Linked DNA regions of Homo sapiens: region 2 is linked to region 1. Evidence: promoter capture Hi-C in 16 types of primary human blood cells and fetal thymus (Javierre and others, 2016). All regions are on one chromosome and are shown on one strand. The core of a region is centred on a gene start or on the middle of the fragment in contact, and the rest is flanking DNA. Distances in the headings are between cores, read along the strand shown. Region 1 holds the start of TMEM208 (transmembrane protein 208). Region 2 overlaps CES3 (carboxylesterase 3).

Region 1 (3,268 bases), core at 666-3,165:
AATTTCTACCTCTGCAACTTCCCCACCTCAGTAGCTCAGATTTCTACCACCCCAAACCTGGATTCCTTCCACAATCTCCCACCTGAACTCTTTGCCTCCAAGTTCATCCTTGCTAATACATTATGCACACTGTCACAAGGTTAATTTTTCCTATAAAACAGTTTTCAGTTTCAGCTCACCCCTGCTGTAAAACTTCAGGGTTCACAGTACTCTCAGGACAGTCTCCACTCCTGGATCAGCACTGCCAGGCCTCTGTGCCTGATTGGACTCGCTGGTCCCCAAACTTCCCCAGTCCAGTCTCCCCATTGCCCTACGCACACAGCATGTCTATTTCCTTTTGCCTATGCGGGCCTTTTCCCTGGGATCCCCTTCTTGAAGCTTAACTTCACCAACCCATTGTGATCTCTCCTTCCTTTCTCAGATGCCAAGCACGCAGGCACAGTGCTCAGCCAGTGCTTACTGGATTAAATTAAGGTTGGACAGTCCAGTCCTCTACCTCTATTTTCACCAAGAGTATGCTCAGGGAAGGGGTCGGGGAAATAAAGCAGTCATTACTGAGAGGACAATGACTGGCAGAATAGACTTCTGGGCCAGGAAGGGAGGCATAGGGAAGACAGTATTGATGGGGACTGGGACTGACCAAGTCCCAATCCCTCCAGGGAGGCACGGAAGCCTGTTTGAGCTGAGTTAAGACAGTGGCCATCCTGTCTTCTGGGGCTAAGCAGCCAGCCCAAGAGCAAAGGGAGAGGGGAACAAACCTGTCATCCCTTGGGGTGAGTCGGGAAGGGACACAATTCATTGACCTAAGAAGAGGGTGGCCTTTCTAGAGGGACAAGAGGAGGCAGTGATGAGGATGGAGTGACCATCCCATGAGTCCCATCTCAAGGGGGCTACTGGAGATAATGATTGGTCACTCATGGGGTCTATGGGGATGGAAATAGATAGCCCCTAAAGCTAAGGGGGAAAGGGATAGCACTGCAAGCTCAATAGGGGTGGGAACAGGCCTATTTTTGCTAAGGACAGGAGCATCATTCCAGGACCGATGGGAAAGGGTGGCCTGTTTCCCATGGGCAGAGAGAGGGGGCTGCCAACCCTCAGGACAAAAGAGATGGAGAAGCCATTCCAACAGGCCACTGAAGACAAAACCTGTTATCTCCCTGGCAGATGGGGCAGAGTGGTCTTGCCCCTGGCTAAGGGGAAGGAGCAAACATCCCACGGAGTGAAAGAGGTAAGGGCGGCCATCACTAGGGGCCTAGGAATGGGGAACAGGCCTATCCTTGTTAAAGGAACTCAGAGATCATTGCAGTTGATGGGGAGGGAGCAGTCTGTTTCCCACTGCCAGGGAGAAGGGGCGGCCGTCTCTGTAGGAAATGGAGAGATCATCCCAAGGGACCAATGGGGATAAGATCAGTTACCCTTCGGGACGATGAGATGGAGCGGACATCTTCCAGAACTGAGCGGGGAGGAGACAGCCACTTCAAGGGAAGGGGATGGGCAGAGGGCCTGTTCTCGCGGAGATGACAGGGCAGCTATCTTCTGGGGCCGATAGGGAAGGGGAGGACGGTCCCCCAAGCTAAAGGGACAGAGTGGCCCAAAGGAGGAACCGTTACCCAGAGCTAGAAGGTCCCGGGATCGGGAGGGCGGGTCGTTTCCGCCAGGCTGGAGGGGCCGGGCTAGCTATCTGACAGCCCCTCCCCAAAGCTCAGGACCGCGAGGGCGGGGCCTGTCCAGAGCTAGGCCTGAGGGCGGCTTCCTCTCACCTCCAGGGGCAGCGACTCCGCCATCGCATCCCTGCCGCCTCCGCCCCCACTGCGCAAGGCTTTCTGGGAAATGTAGTCTCGCCTCTTTGGGGCGGGGCTTGGGAAGGAAGTGAGACCTATTTCCGTCGCAAAAGCTGACGACTTCGGTCTGCGCCGGAAGTGCATGAGCTGCCGATGTGGTGCTTAGTGATTGCGGTTTCGGTCGCTCTCCCGTGTTTCCCGGGCTGGGTATTTGCCTCGCACCATGGCGGTAAGGAGGATGGATAGGGCGGGGTCCGCACCAGCAAAGCTCTCCAGGGGCTGTGAGAGTGAAAACTGAGAAAGAACATTAAGGGATATGGGGTGGGCCAGAGCGGGGCGCCATCCCTGGCCAGACCGTGCTAGAGCTGGGCTGGGGGGATGGCGGCGCAGGACCATACCAGGACTAGTGCCAGAGCGGGGTGGGCATCAGTACCAGGGCAGGCCAGAGATCTAAGTGACCTGAGGTGGGGGTTAACCCAGATCGGGACTACGCCAGCGGAGGCCTGAGAGAGGCACCATTCAACTCCGCTCAGGAGTACCCTTGGAAGAGTCGTTAGCCTAAAGCCAGACTACCACGGGATCCAGAGGCGGTATTAGCTTAGGATTGAATTGTTCCAGGGCGAGCAAGAGGCGATTGATCCTAGCTGCGGGTGCTGGAGAGATGGCGTCAGCCCTAGGCAGAATGGACTGGAGGATGGGTGGACATCCCAGGGATTTTGCTAGGTTTCTGCACTACGGGGACCTGGCTGAGTTGCGGATGGAGCTCTATAGCTCACCAGGCTGGTGGGGAGAATGAGGAGGACCGTGGCCTCCTGACGGCATCTCATCATTCCTCTGCAGCCCAAGGGCAAAGTGGGCACGAGAGGGAAGAAGCAGATATTTGAAGAGAACAGAGAGACTCTGAAGTTCTACCTGCGGATCATACTGGGGGCCAATGTAAGTGCCTACCTCCTTGCTTCTATGCCCACTTATAGTCAGTTCCCTAGTCCTCAGCCCTGCTTGGTGACGAGGAGTGGTACCCGAAAAAGCTCTAGAAGAGAGCTCCAGTCAAAAAGAAATGAGAGATCTGGGCACAGAGAAAGTGCTAACTAGTAAAACACAAAGAAAATGAAGGCGTGAGTCGTAGCTGAATTTGAGAGCTCTTCCTACCTCCAAGTACACAAAGGCTTCTTTCCTGGGCTGAGTTGGGTGTCAGAGGAGAGTGGGTATTTGGGATTCAGGGAGCAGGGCCCTTTCTTCAACCCTGTAAGAACAACCTTGCTCCTCCCACAGCCTGGCCTAATTCTTGGTCAGAGTTGAGGGAGACCCATGGTTTGGAGGTAACTTCTGACCCCAACCTGATCCTGTGATTGCTTGCAGGCCATTTACTGCCTTGTGACGTTGGTCTTCTTTTACTCATCTGCCTCATTTTGGGCCTGGGTAAGTATCTCCATCCTGGGAGGTGGATGAGTGCGTAGGGTCAGTGGCTGGCCTTTGATACCCTCATT
Region 2 (3,752 bases), core at 858-3,357, 260 kb before region 1:
AAGATCGTGCCACTGCACTCCAGCTTGGTCAACAGAGCTAGACCCTGTCTCAAACACAAAAAATAAAAACAAAGAAATGGGCAAGTGGCTGGCCCCAAGGCACAAGGCCCTAGTGGCAGGCCCGGTCTGGCCTGGAGTGGAGTGGTAGTGACTCTCAGGCAGGCAGGGAGGAGGAAGTTGGGCGTCAACCTAAGACCAGGCTCACCGGCTTGCTGGGAAGGTTACCAAGATGCTGTGTGGTAAGTACTGAGAACAGCCTGAGGGTTTGTCTTTCACTCCTTCCCCTCATGGGGGCTGCAAACTCACCCCGTGGCCTTTCTGTCCTTCCCTCAGGGCCCGAAGTTGCTCAGCCTGAAGTAGACACCACCCTGGGTCGTGTGCGAGGCCGGCAGGTGGGCGTGAAGGGCACAGACCGCCTTGTGAATGTCTTTCTGGGCATTCCATTTGCCCAGCCGCCACTGGGCCCTGACCGGTTCTCAGCCCCACACCCAGCACAGCCCTGGGAGGGTGTGCGGGATGCCAGCACTGCGCCCCCAATGTGAGTAGTGCTGGTGGAGGCGGGCAAACAGGCAGGTTGCAGGAGAATCCTGCTGCTGGGGCTTGTGGGGCTGAACAGCTGGACCTCAGGCCCACCCTTGGCCACAGGTGCCTACAAGACGTGGAGAGCATGAACAGCAGCAGATTTGTCCTCAACGGAAAACAGCAGATCTTCTCCGTTTCAGAGGACTGCCTGGTCCTCAACGTCTATAGCCCAGCTGAGGTCCCCGCAGGGTCCGGTAGGCCGGTAGGCACCCCAGAGGGCCCTGTCCACCTGATCCAGCTCCACTATGCCTACCTGTCCCCTCCCCGTCCCTGTTTCCAAAGCACCCTAGCGGTCCTGAGACTGCCTGGGCTGGCAGGTGGGCAGCTAAGGTCTCAGGAGCTTGGGGGTCAGTGCCCCATGGCCACCTCTGCAGGTCATGGTATGGGTCCATGGAGGCGCTCTGATAACTGGCGCTGCCACCTCCTACGATGGATCAGCTCTGGCTGCCTATGGGGATGTGGTCGTGGTTACAGTCCAGTACCGCCTTGGGGTCCTTGGCTTCTTCAGGTGAGACGACAGGCATGGCCAGAGCACTGCCTGCACCGGGGAGAGGCCAGCTCACCAGAGCAACTGGGGATCTAGGTTGGGGTCCGGAACCTGAAGGGAGGGCCCCTTACCCATGATGTCTGAGGCAGAGAAGGGCACCCCCCAAGCCTCCACCCTGGGAGAGGGGTCCAGCCAAAGCCAGAATTATACAGTGAACTTGGTCCCTTGGGCAGAGGGCATTGATTCCTGGGCTGAAGCCCAGGTTCCAGCAGGATATGGGACAAAGAGCAACAGGCTGTGGAGATGCCAACCACGGCTCCCAGACAGGCCAGACCTGGGGAGCAGAGAAGGGTCTGGCATCCTGGTGGCTAATTCAAAGCAAACCTGCAGAGGCTGGCGAGGAGCCAGGCTGAACTAACCGTTGCCCCAACACTGCCCCCAGCACTGGAGATGAGCATGCACCTGGCAACCAGGGCTTCCTAGATGTGGTAGCTGCTTTGCGCTGGGTGCAAGAAAACATCGCCCCCTTCGGGGGTGACCTCAACTGTGTCACTGTCTTTGGTGGATCTGCCGGTGGGAGCATCATCTCTGGCCTGGTAAGTCACTATAGGGGGCTAGTGATGGTGGCCAGGAGGGCTCCGGTGGTCTCAGAACTCCCAGCTCCTCTGCCCTCCTCTGACAGCCACCTCCTCTCTCCAATGCACCCAGGTCCTGTCCCCAGTGGCTGCAGGGCTGTTCCACAGAGCCATCACACAGAGTGGGGTCATCACCACCCCAGGGATCATCGACTCTCACCCTTGGCCCCTAGCTCAGGTCTGTATTTCCTTCCCTCTCTTACTCTATGTGTGCCTCCCATACCCCACTCTGTGCTGGCCCTGGGGTCTCAGAGTAGCGGGGTTTGCTGGCAGGGAGCTCCCTGTTAGCAAAGAGAAGCCCAATAAGACGAAGGAGCATCAGAGGAAACAACTGCTGCATTCCAGCATATTGGCACTCAGGGAGGGCTTCCTGAAGGAAGCCACCCTGAAGCATATCATTGTTGGCCCTTTCTCCAGGGTGGGGTCTTCAGGAGCACCCCTCTCTGCCCCAGGCAGCATGGTGGAGGGGGTCTCCATTGCCAGCCACCTGCTGCCTGCGAGCTCTCCATTCAGGCTCCAGATCCCCACCCTAGATCCTCATTGTAAGGCCTTGTGAAGAAAATCCAGGGGAAGCCACAGTGGGAACTGCATCTGCAAAGGCTGCAGGTGTGGGAGAGAGTGACAGGTCCTGCAGGAGCAAGCTCGCAGGTTAGGGAACAGGGCAGGAAGTGAAGGTGCTGGAGAAGTGGGGGCCATGCCTGGGAATCTGGACTTTCTCCAGAGGGCAGGAAGAAGTTGGGCAATGACAAGGTTGAGCTACCTGGAGTAGAAGGTGGGTTGGAGGGAGCCGTCCTGAAGATCAAGACACCAGTGAAATGACCAGGGCAGAGTCCAGGAGAAAGAGACAGGATGGAATAGGGATAGAGCCATCGGGGAGAGAGGGGGCAAATGTGAGCAGGATTTGGAAGACTGGGTCAATTCCCTCACCTGGCCCCAGATGGTGGCCAAGGCAGTGTGGGCTGGGCATTTTAACCACTGTGTACAAGATGATTCTGGAACCTCTGCGTGGGCATGTTGACTCTTGTATGGACAACAGCATCCTCCTCTCAACCTCCCCATCCCATCCTCTCCCCATGGCCAGGAGAGATTTTCTCAACCACAGACTTGAGGTCATTCCCTGTCTCTCCTGTGTCCAAAGAAAAACACAGCTCAAGGCTGAGGTTGGCGGATCACAAAGTCAGGAGATCAAGGTGATCCTGGCTAACATGGTGAAACCCCATCTCTACTAAAAATACAAAAAATTAGCCGGGCATGGTGGCAGGTGCCTGTAGTCCCAGCTACTCAGGAGGCTGAGGCAGAAGAATGGTGTGAACCCGGGACGCAGAGCTTGCGGTGAGCCAAGATCATGCCACTGCACTCCAGCCTGGGCGACAGAGCGAGAGTCTGTCTCAAAAAAATAATAATAAAAGATAATGACACTATTCTTAGAGGGCAATGAGGACTCAGTGCCCCCATTCCCCCAGATAATAAAATTATGGTATAATAGGGGACGCAAGGGGGCCCTTGGGACCACCCAAGCTGACGGGCAGGGCAGGCTTCTCAGGAGTGGTGACAAGTCTGTGACCAGTCTCGAGGCCGATCTGTGACATCACATCCAGCTGTCCTACAGATGCACCCTCTCTGTGGGAGGCAGAAGGCTGCAAGGTGGGGCTGAGTGGCTGAGAGGGAGGCATGACTCTTTCATTTGTCCCCAGAAAATCGCAAACACCTTGGCCTGCAGCTCCAGCTCCCCGGCTGAGATGGTGCAGTGCCTTCAGCAGAAAGAAGGAGAAGAGCTGGTCCTTAGCAAGAAGCTGGTATGGCCACCCTTTTGGGGATGGTGCCGGGCAATGGCACAGAGGGGGTTCTATCCATCCCCTGCAGGAGCAGAGGGGCAGTCTACCCCCAGGTGGGGCTGGGGACAGCAGCTCATGAGGGGAAGGGGCTGAGGGCTTGGAGACAGAAATGGAGGGCCATCTCCATCCCCACAGCAGGCCTGTCTTCTAGGAAAGAAACTGGACGCATCTGTTGCCCTGATCTCCTGGTTCCCCCGACCCCCTTAACCCTGG

What was found. Contacts are between HindIII fragments. The CHiCAGO score rates a contact against its expected background, and 5 or more counts as called.
Region 2: a contact is called between a fragment that was not itself captured here and the fragment with the promoter of TMEM208 in region 1, in 11 of 17 cell types (M2 macrophages, naive CD4 T cells, activated CD4 T cells and 8 more). The highest score is 9.4, in M2 macrophages.

Annotation. Positions count from the first base shown.
Region 1 is chr16:67,225,215-67,228,482 of GRCh38, forward strand. It overlaps TMEM208 (transmembrane protein 208), which reads left to right and starts at 1,916. Exons shown (of 6, transcript NM_014187.4): 1 at 1,916-2,010; 2 at 2,622-2,717; 3 at 3,141-3,200. The coding sequence starts at 2,005. It also overlaps the pseudogene FBXL9P. RefSeq lists an enhancer at 1,719-2,068. The HindIII fragment of the contact is 11,037 bases long and covers 377-3,268 here.
Region 2 is chr16:66,962,846-66,966,597 of GRCh38, forward strand. CES3 (carboxylesterase 3) reads left to right here. Exons shown (of 13, transcript NM_024922.6): 2 at 334-538; 3 at 646-784; 4 at 957-1,090; 5 at 1,512-1,665; 6 at 1,778-1,882; 7 at 3,399-3,500. Among named protein-coding and RNA genes, the nearest start is that of CES3, 3.5 kb to the left of the region's middle. RefSeq lists an enhancer at 893-1,810. The HindIII fragment of the contact is 7,346 bases long and covers 1-3,752 here.